2 separate regions of the Homo sapiens genome follow, and region 1 is linked to region 2. The links are contacts of gene promoters, found by promoter capture Hi-C in blood cells and fetal thymus (Javierre and others, 2016). All regions are on one chromosome and are shown on one strand. Each heading gives the region's core, a stretch centred on a gene start or on the middle of the fragment in contact. The rest is flanking DNA. Distances are from core to core; before and after follow the strand shown. Region 1 holds the start of SLC9B2 (solute carrier family 9 member B2). Region 2 holds the start of DAPP1 (dual adaptor of phosphotyrosine and 3-phosphoinositides 1).

Region 1 (5,227 bases), core at 2,418-4,917, 3.3 Mb before region 2:
GGCTTTTTAGAGGTTTCCAGAGGAGTTCATATGTGTAACAGAGCTTGTCTTTTAAAAGAACTTGGGGGAGTTGGAGGTATTTCTTTGGTGAAGTGACTAATAACTCCCTAGTTCACCTACTGTATATTATCAGCTTTTATCTATTGAACTCTTAAAATTTCTCTATTCATTATGATATCCTTACTTCCTCTTCCATTGTTTCAGGCTTCAGATGAATTTAGACTGTTTGAGTCTTTATTATCCATTTTAAGTTAAAAGATTTTTAAACTTCTACCAAAAAGATCACTTCAGCCTTATTTAGAAAATGAAAAATTTATGGGAATAAACCAGTAATTATTTTTTAAATTCCTTAGTTTTATAAAGATTTGGATATCTGAAACTAATATAGAATATTTTTATAGCTTAATGGATTATAGTTATTATCATTCATGTAAATTTTTAAAACACATTTAGTGTGCTTCAGCTCCTACAATTATCCACTTATAATTGATCAACTAAATATATGCTGTCTTTTTTAAAAAACTGGTCATTAATATGACCATTTTATGACTGATACACTTATGTTCAAAAGTTTATTAGTGGCATAAAACTTAGCTAGTTTTGAATAGTTCTGAGTTTCAAAATGAAAATGTGCTTTTAGCCTATATCCTAATTTGGGGAATGGCTATACATCACTGTTCCTTAATTTGGGGATTCTGAGACCAAATACCTAACAGTGACAGGTGCTTAGACACCAGCCAGAGGCCATTTAGTTCCAGATCACAGGACACTCAGCAGTTCTAAATCAACCAAATGTTAATTTGGATTTCCCTGAATTAAGTGTTTAAGTGAGGTTTCCTGTTAGGACAAGGGTAAATTGTTTAGTTATCCTAGTCACAGGAAAATTTCAAAATACAGCCTGTATCAAACCTGGTTAATTGTTCTGTCTCCTTGTGTTTATCACTGCAGTCTGCTTATGTAACTGGTAACCCTGTCATCATTGATGGAGGCTGGAGCTTGTGATTTTAGGATCTCCATGGTGGGAAGGAAGGCAGGCCCTTCCTATCCACAGTGAACCTGGTTACGAAGAAAACTCACCAATCATCTCCTTCCTGTTAATCACATGTTAATGAAAATAAGCTCTTTTTAATGATGTCACTGTTTGCAAGAGTCTGATTCTTTAAGTATATTAATCTCTTTGTAATCTCTTCTGAAATCATTGTAAAGAAATAAAAATATTGAACTCATAGCAGGAGAATAGTTTTTAAAATAAATCTCGATTTGTTAGCATCTGTCTTAGTCACTTTGGGCTGCTATAACAAATTACCATAGATGGAGTGTCATAGACAACAAACATTTATTTTTCAGTCTGGAGGCTAGGAAGTGCAAGATAAAGGTGCCAGCAGATATAGTTTCTGGTTAGGGCCCACTTCCTGGTTTGCAGATGGTCCTCTTCTTGCTGTATCCTCACATAGCAAGAGCAGAGAAAAAAAGCGAGCGCTCATGTGTCTTTTTATAAGGACACTAATCCTGTTCATGAGGGCACTACCCTTATGACCTGATTACCTCCCAAAGGCCCCACCTCCTAATGTATCATATTGCAGGTTAGGATGTCAACACATGACTCTGGGGTGATACAAATAGGCCATTGCAGCATATACAATTAAAATGTAAATATGAAGAAAAAAGGAAGTTTTTGTTTTTTTGTGGGGGAGATGGGGGTTAAGGAAGAAGATAGTAATTTCAGGACTAGGCATGGTAGCTCATGCCTATAATTCCTGCACTTTGGGAGGCCAAGGCAGGAGGATCACTTGCGGCCAGGAGTTCAGGACCAGCATGGTTAACAGAGGCTAAGGCAGGAGGATTACTTGAGCCCAAGAGTTTGAGGCTGCAGTGAGCTGTAATCATGCCACTGCACTCCAGGGTGACAGAGCAAGACCCTGTACCTAAATAATAATAATAATTTCCACTTCATTTTTCAATATTCAAATATTTTTATATAATTCTGCATTGTTCTGTATGTAGATCCTAATTTTAAAATTTTACACCATCATAAATGAACAAAGGTAGGAAGGAGTTTGGCTTCAATAGCTTACAGTAAAAGGAGTAAAGGAGTTCAGCCTCAAAACGATATTGTTGACCTGTTATGTTATGAAAAATAATCCAGTGTTTATACTTAACGGATGCCATCCCTTATTATTTACTATTTTCTTAGTCTAACTAAACAATCTTTATTAAAATAAGCAATGATATTTGACATGGGCCTAAGAAATATATAGTTAGCTAACAATATTGTCAGTTAGAGGGATTTCTTTTCTAAATTAAGTACAGATTTCTTCACCAAACTCCAGGATAACAGAAAAGAGGACATAAAATTTGGACATAGTTTCTGGATAAATAAATGTAAATTTAAATATAAATTATGTAACAGGAAACAAACGAAATTAAAGAAAATAAATTTTTCAAGAAAAGTAAATTTATGGATGTTAATTCTGTAACATTGTCAGGGCAAAGTTTTTTGTTTTTATTTTAATTTAAGGGTTTTATGTTTGTTTTTTACTTGTTGCAACCTCAAATGACCAAATGGTATGATGCACACTGAGATACTCAATAAATGTGCAGTGATTCTTAGCCTTTTTTCCTAGAACTTTAATATTAACATGGAAAATTCTGAAATGGACAACAAAAAGATAACACTTTGTGTATGGGGAAGAATATCATGCAGTTGATGACGGTACATTAAAATTCACACAAAAGGACATTTTGACTAGCATTCAGAAAGAGTCCATTGATTATAAGATTATCTATGAGGTTTTGGACCGGGCACTACACTACCGAATTATGGCTAACTTTGGTTTGTGATCTAGACCAAGTCACCCAATCTATCTTGGATTTTAGTTTTCTGGTTTATGAAATTAAGGAGTTAAGCTAAATGACTTGGGTTTCTTTTCGTGTATCATAATCAAAATGCTGTAACTTCTCTAGTGAATTCATAGAACACTGACTCTTACAAGTATGTCATGAAATACTTTATGCTGTGAGCAGGTATACATGTATAATATATGTATAGCTATGAACAAATAAATTTTAAATAAATGCACAACGAATTCTACAAAATGGGCTCCAACATTAACAAATGATCTGAGTTAGTCTTTCTCACAGCCGACCATAAACTATAAAACATTTTTATAAACACTATCAGCAATAAAAACGAAGTAAAATCTAGCCAAAAAATTCAATGTTCTCCAAAGTCATGTTAATCAAATCAGGTGATATATTAATGAAGTACATATGACTAAAAGGAAAAATATATGTCATTCCTGTGGTAAGAGGAAGCTGAATGTCACTAGAAATTTTTACAAGCTTTAGGAGAGGAAGAGTTCCGTTTAGGAAAATAATCATTTCAGATGATCTGAAGAAGGGTATTGGATGGAACCTATCCAATAGGTTCATCACAAAAGAGGACCTGAGAGACAAGAATGAATGGTTTCTGACTGGTGGAGAAATTTGAGGATAATCTCCCTTGCTTGAAAAGCGGTGATTAAGATTGGCACTTGCTTACAGGAGTGAAAAACAGGTAAGGGGTGCGCGCGTCTTAACACACACAAGAGGAAATACAGAGAAAAGGAAGACACAAACATGAAATGAGAATTAAATGAAATAGAATCACACTGCTGATAGAAGGGTTAAAAATCTAAAATACAACAAGAAGGGCAGGTGTTAAGCGATAAAGGGGGGCAGAACAAGTCTTTTATCCGGCCATTTAATTGGTCACCTTAAGAAAGAATCCTATCTTCCCACCGCAGCTGAGAAGACACTTCTAAGAGGTACAGCTAAAAGGTGGAGGACTGATAGACAACTTAGAGGTTGGTTTCGGGAACGATAAAACAAGTAACGGGCTGCCCGGCCTGCGCCGCGGAGTCCCGAGGAGCCTGCGCTGTGCTCCTCTCGCGGTGTCTCGTCATCTCCGGGAAGACTCGGCGCCTGGGTCCGCGCTCTCTGGGTAAGCTTTCCGGGAAGCTTTCCCGGGAGCTCGCTGGTCCTGGCCCCAGAAGCCTGCGGACCCGCCCAGGGAGGATAAGCAGCTGAAAGACCGCGCGGTGCCGCTCCGAGGCCCCGGGACGTGGGCCCATGGTCGGCCTGGCGCCACCTTTCCGGGGGAAGCCACGCGCACCAGGCATCGCACGCGGCTCTGCACCCGCGCCGCCGGACCTGAAACCCGGCGGAGGGCACACGGGGCTGCCGCTGCGGGCCCCGGACCAACCCATGCTTACTCCGGAGCCTGTACCGGCGCCGACGGGTCGGACCTCCCTGCGCGGTGTCGCCCAGCGGGTTCGTGCGAAAGGCGGGGCCGACTACACGCGGTGCCGCGCCCTGAGACCGTTTATCTGCAGTCAACGCAGCCTCCCGGCTCAGCCTGGGAAGATGCGCGAATCGGGAACCCCAGAGCGCGGTGGCTAGACCGGGCTCCGCCGCCTCCCCCACAGCCCCTTTCCTAATCGTTCAGACGGAGCCTGGTCGACTTCGCCGGAGACTGCCAGGTGAGAGGCCCCAGAGACACTAAGGGTAAAAATAAACCCAGCGCCAGCGGCGGGTACCCTGTAGGCCTGCTGGACCGGAGACGCGAGCGAGGGGCCCAGCCTTTTCTGTTTGTACACCCGGTGACGGGCGCGTGTCTGTTTACTGTTGTAAGGTGTTGGCGTGGGTTTTCTTGCTTGCTTTTATTTTAGTTCTCAGATTAACCAGAGGGGGTGTTGCCTTTGTGGACTGGGTTAGCATCCTCGAGGTGCTAAGAATCATCGTATGCTATTGACTGAAGAATATAACCTTAAGACAGCAGTAGCTGCTGTAAGAGATAAAGTAAAACATCTCAGTAACTAAACATAGTTCAGGCTTATTTCTCGTTCATGTCAAGTCCATTCACGTGTTCAGCTGTTGGCCTTCTACTCAATTATTCAGGAACCCAAACTCCTTTTATATTATGGCTTTGCTATCCCCTAAGACCTTGGAGTCCTTAGTTTCCAGGCAACGGACAGAAAAAGAAAAGCTACTAGAGGATTGCATGAGGATTGTTTCTTATGGGTGAGGACTGGAAATCACATACTATTTATGTCCACATGCCATTGACCAGACTTCAGTCACATGCCACACTGACCTGCAAGGGAGACTGGAAATGTACTATGGACCCAGGCAGAAGAGTAAACGATTTTGGTAAACACATATCAGTCTCTGACCATCCCTTAAAGGG
Region 2 (5,289 bases), core at 1,783-4,282:
GGATTTACATATTCCAGAGCCTGAAAAAAACAGAGGCCCAAGAACAAAGACTTCTGCTATTTCTGTAATTTAACCACTAACTTATCTGTTTATGTCTATCAAAAACATAAACGTAAGGATTTATCTAACTACTCAAATAACCTCTTAAAAATAATTGAAAAATTAAGTCATTAAAACCAGCTACCTTTTATCTATCCATTACATTAAATCATTTTGTTTTTAAGGAGGTCTTTGGAAACTAAATTAATCAGAAGGTTTGGTAGAGATTCTATCTCGCCAGTGGTTAAAGGTTCAAAGAAAAAGTCATTATAATGTTCGAGTTATGTTCAGTATTCTGGCAGAGGCAACAAGTCATTGTCAAGAGTTCTCAAATTGTTATCTATAAAAAATGTATCAGTGAGGTGCTGCAGGAGCAAGTACTGGCACAAGTTGATTATTAAATATTCAATTCGATGATGTTAAATTGTTGGCAGCTTGAAATTGTCTATAGTGGGAGTATTTATACCAGGGAATTAGGCAAATTCTTGAAATCAGGGCTTTCTCCACACCCCAACTCTTCCCAGCTGTTTTTCCAGCACACTGTTGAGTATGCTTAAATAAGCCATACATCTGAGGGTTCTTTTTGGGAGAACAGAAATGTCCTAAAACTGATTTATGGTGATGGTTGTATCACTCTGTAAAGTTAGTCAAAAGTATTGAATTGTACACTTGAAACGGGTATATTTTATGATATGTAAAATAACCTCAATAAAGTTGCTAATCGAAATGCCCCTAAACCAACAAACAAAATATCAACATTTATTAGTAATTTTAAGATTCAAGTACACACCCAACAGACTTAAAATGAAAAACAAGACCACATTTACCTAATGCATTTGGTAGATACATATTCTATGCAGTGATCATCAACCTAGGGTCTCACTTTGGAATTACTTGGAGAGTTTGACAAGAAAACACCCATCCCCAGAGATACTGAAATCATTTGTCAAGTCTGTGGTTTGGGTGTCAAGATGTTCCAGAGCACAGCCAAGGTCAAGAACCAGGACTGTAGAGCAGTTTTCCCAGATAACTGCAGGTTGCCCATTGCTATAGAAATCATCCTCATGTTTATTAATTGTTCACGCCTTCTGAAATAGGGAAATCTGGCCATGAATGTACCCTTTTTTTTTTGCAGGGAAGTGGTGTGACTCAGTTTTGTATTCAATGTCTATTCTTTGCACATGGAGGAAAGACACAGTCCTATTCCACCCGTGGGTTTCACCTGTAGTTGCTTCTTGCTGTTGACATCATGGTGGGGCACAGAGACAGCATCTAATTCATCTTTGTCATCTAAGTGTGTTCCCACAGTACTCAACCATAGACTCTGGGTTCTAGGATTGTTTGTTTAACTAAAGGACCAGAATTGAATATATTCCTCTATCTCCTCCTTTGGGGTTTTCTATTACAGTGGGCTGGGAATACAGTTAACAGAACATGTAAAGCATTGTAACTTAATAGTTCAATAAGACACTGAGGGCCACAGTTCAGCTTTAGCTTTTGGACTTGGTGACACCTGTGCTGGATGCTCACAGAAGGGCCTTTTACCTCTTCTGTTTGGGGATTCAATCTAGAGGGATAGAGAGATTCTAGAGCTCTGGCTTCCTAATAAGGGGAGTTTTCTTTAATGAAAATTCCAGGTGTTTTATCTGATTTGCCAAATGAAAGTAGAGTTCAATTCCGAGACCTCAGTTTTATAATCTAAAGACAGGAATTATTAATAAACTTTTACAGTAATACAACATAAAAAGATACAATCTCTGCAGCCTTAACACAGAGAGATTTCAACTCTATTTTGGTTTTTCTTTGGTTTCGGACATAGCCTGTGGTAGGTTGGATGCCCAGCTTTGCTATGTAATTGATGTGTGACTAGCAAGCAAGTTATTCAAACCTGTTTGGTACTTGTTTTCATCCTTTGTAAGATGAAGATGACAACAGCTCCTATGTCATTGGATTGCTATGAAGAGTTAGAGCTATTTGTCCAGGCAGAAGGTAAAGGTTTTGCCTCTCCTCATGCACAGGTGTCAAAGCCACCTTCATTGGGATATTCCCAGTGCATTAGGCAGTTTCTCTGGGAAATCCCCAATTCCTCTCTTGTGTAATACTTGTTTCTTATTAAATACCCGGATGAGTTGTCATCTGGGTCCCTTCTTAAAGACAGAGCTCCAATGACTCCACCTACCTATGCTTACCTGTTTGAAGCAGAAATTTTATCCTCTTCCTGGATTGTTGGTACTGAAAGGCTCAAAGTTGGCTCTCTGGACATACATACGATATCAAATCTCACAAATGCAGTATCAGGAGAAAGAAATATACAAGCGAGACTGTTGCAGGAACTTCCTCATTCTCTGTCTTTTGAAAAAGTCCCTCTCCCTTACAGTAGGGTAAGCTTTCTGTTTATCTTACCAGAAACACAGTCCTTTTACTGTCCCTGGGTCAGTGCTAGAAACTCTTGAACAGCGCATTTATTCATAAACCAGAGCAACATCAAGGAAGCCAGGCAACATCACCTCTATATCCCAATTCTGTCCCTCTTCTCAAAGAATGTCCAACATTTGATTTTTTTCCCTATTTTCTCAACCAACTTGTTTTCACATCTAGAAAAATAATGCCTGCTTTTCCAATGGAATTAGCCCCAGACAAGAAGATACTTAACAGATACAAATGAATAAAGTGGAAAAAAATAAATGGTTGAGGTGGCAGAGGGCAACAAGGCACTGAAGATAGTCATTAATCAAAGCATGCAGGTGGGAGTGCGGAGTCAATGTCCACCCACTAGGTACTTTGAAAGGAGATCTGCTGCCTTACCCCAAGTCCTGGAGCAGCTCAGCCTCTCCATCGGATCTGCTCCACAGATCTGAGGGATCCTGGGTGCTCATCTTCCCTTCTAGAAGTTCTGCTCTGCCCATTCGCGCCCTTCACAGAGGTAGAGAGAGAGACACAACTGGGCTGCTCCTGACACCTTCTCGCTCTGTGAGACAGCAGCCTGCTATGGCTCTGAGTCTCCAAGGCAAGGAAGTGAAACTTGGTTACTTACTCCTCCCACCAACACCACCACCCTGGCCTGGAGGCACTGGCAGGAGTGTTCTGTCAGTCAGGAAGTATGCAAACTTAGGTAGCTACCTCTGAGGACACCCACACTACATCACGCAACAGGCGGTTGCTATCAAAGGAAATGAAGAGGCAACCACCCCACCTGGGATTGGACAACAGTGCAAACTGCTTGTGTGAGGCCAAACCCTAGCTTCTCCCTAATGCTATCAGCCTCTGGTTTGTAGTGGAGGATGCGTGCACTCTTTTACCCCATCTTCTTTCTGTCTTACACACCAACACAGGGAACACTGAGGAAGCTTCTCTATCAGGAACACCTTTAGAGTGGATAGAAAAAGCAGAAGCAAACCACAAATTCGACCCTGAAGTTTGATGTTTTAGCACTTTTGCAATATTTCTGCTTGTTTACCCAGACCTTCTAATATATCCTCAATGCTCCGAATAGGGATGATTCAGAGACAATTATTGTTTCCTCCACAGAAAAAGAATTAGGAGAGGAGAAGGTAGGAAAAAGTTACAAGGGGCCATTCTGGTGCCCACCTAATGGGGCATATTAGAACTCCTGGAGTCTTTTTTTTTTTTTTTTTTTGAGACAGTCTCGCTCTGTCACTCAGTCTGGAGTGTAATGGCATGACCTGAGATCACTGCAACCTCCACCTCCCAGGGTTCAAGTGATTCTTCTGCCTCAGCCTCCCAAGTAGCTGGTATTACAGGCACCCGTCATCATGCTCTGCTAATTTTTGTGTTTTTATAGAGACAGGGTTTCACCCTCAGGTGATACACTCACCTCGGCCTCCCAAAGTGCTGGGCTTATAGGCATGAGCCACTGCACCTGGCCTGAACTCCTAGAGTCTTTGAGTGCCACTTCCTTCATGGGCTTACTCACACCTGCATGGCTTTGTGCCCAGATTCATATGTAGAGCAGGATTCTATCTGCCTGGAATGCTAAAGGTAAATTGCAGTGACTGAATCCTTGGGAAGTGGAACAAAGTGCAGTATCAAATGAGTCAAGGACATATGTTGCTTCCTGCCTTTTCTATGTACCTACAGGTCTCTCTCTCCCTCTCCCTTTCTCTCTCTCTCTTCCTATCTCTACTCCCTGACTCATTCAGCACTCACCACAGTGCTCTGTAACTTGTTCTCACAGTGTGGCCTGAGGACTAAACAGCACAGCAGAACTGTTCCTAAAGGACTAGATGATTGCAAAAGGCTGCTGTGCAATGGTTCTATCCTTCATCTTCCTCCCTATTACCACTGTTCACCCGGGATCGGTGAGACCCGGGTAACACTGGTTGCCAGTGGGAAGTTCCTGAGTGTCTGGAGGCAGTCTGCTGAAGACTAAGCTCTGATAATACATATATAACTGACTAAATGAGCACTTAAATTCTTTTGGCTACAGTTTGCTCACAGAGAAGGACAGGGCCCACTTGAACAGAGAGGCCAGTGCAGGCCAGGGAGATACTGAATATGCATACAGCAGTGACAGGGGAACAGCCTGGGCACTAGAGTTCCTGTTCCCTCTCTAGAGCCCTTTATTTGGTGTTTTAGTATCTATTTCATTCCCATTTTTAGCAAATTCTGGTTGTTCTTTTTCTTAACTTTTTTGGAAGTACAAGTAGCAGAATTTTCTAAGATCGTCCTGCTTTTCTGGCTGAATCTTCCTGCCTTTTGCCCTTCCTCATGTTGCTGTCCTGTCTGTTGCCCTCTCCTTTGATGTCATTGTCCCACTTTGTCATTTACTCAATTTTTCACAGTATCCCTACCACCCCGCCCACTCCACTAACTACACACTTAGTTTTGCAGTGGTAACAGCTGCAGGAGGCTTGCTAGATAGTTTCAACAAAATGCTGGAGCCCATCCCTCCCGGGACATCTATTGCTGTGTAACTGAAAGGGGATTTAGAATCTTGTTCTGGGCCGGGCGTGGTGGCTCATGCCTATAACCCCAGCACTTTGGGAGGCCGAGGCGGGTGGATCACCAGGTCAGGAGATCGAGACCATCCTGGCTAATACAGTGAAACCCTGTCTCTACTAAAAATTCAAAAAATTAGCCGGGCATGGTGGTGGACGCCTGTAATCCCAGCCACTCAGGAAGCTGAGACAGGAGAATGGCGTGAACCCGGAAGGCAGAGCTTGCAGTGAGCTGAGATCATGCCACTACATTCCAGCCTGGGCAGCAGAGTGAGACTTCGTCTCAAAAAAA

What was found. Contacts are between HindIII fragments. The CHiCAGO score rates a contact against its expected background, and 5 or more counts as called.
Region 1: a contact is called between a fragment that was not itself captured here and the fragment with the promoter of DAPP1 in region 2, in 3 of 17 cell types (total B cells, naive B cells and total CD8 T cells). The highest score is 5.8, in total B cells.

The regions. Positions count from the first base shown.
Region 1 is chr4:103,075,477-103,080,703 of GRCh38, reverse strand. It overlaps SLC9B2 (solute carrier family 9 member B2), which reads left to right and starts at 3,943. Exons shown (of 12, transcript NM_178833.7): 1 at 3,943-4,520. BDH2 (3-hydroxybutyrate dehydrogenase 2) reads left to right here. Exons shown (of 10, transcript NM_020139.4): 10 at 949-3,112. The coding sequence ends at 1,002. RefSeq lists an enhancer at 3,944-4,063 and a silencer at 4,174-4,283. The HindIII fragment of the contact is 645 bases long and covers 3,345-3,989 here.
Region 2 is chr4:99,814,570-99,819,858 of GRCh38, reverse strand. DAPP1 (dual adaptor of phosphotyrosine and 3-phosphoinositides 1) reads right to left here and starts at 3,032. Exons shown (of 9, transcript NM_014395.3): 1 at 2,845-3,032. The coding sequence starts at 2,945. The HindIII fragment of the contact is 961 bases long and covers 2,428-3,388 here.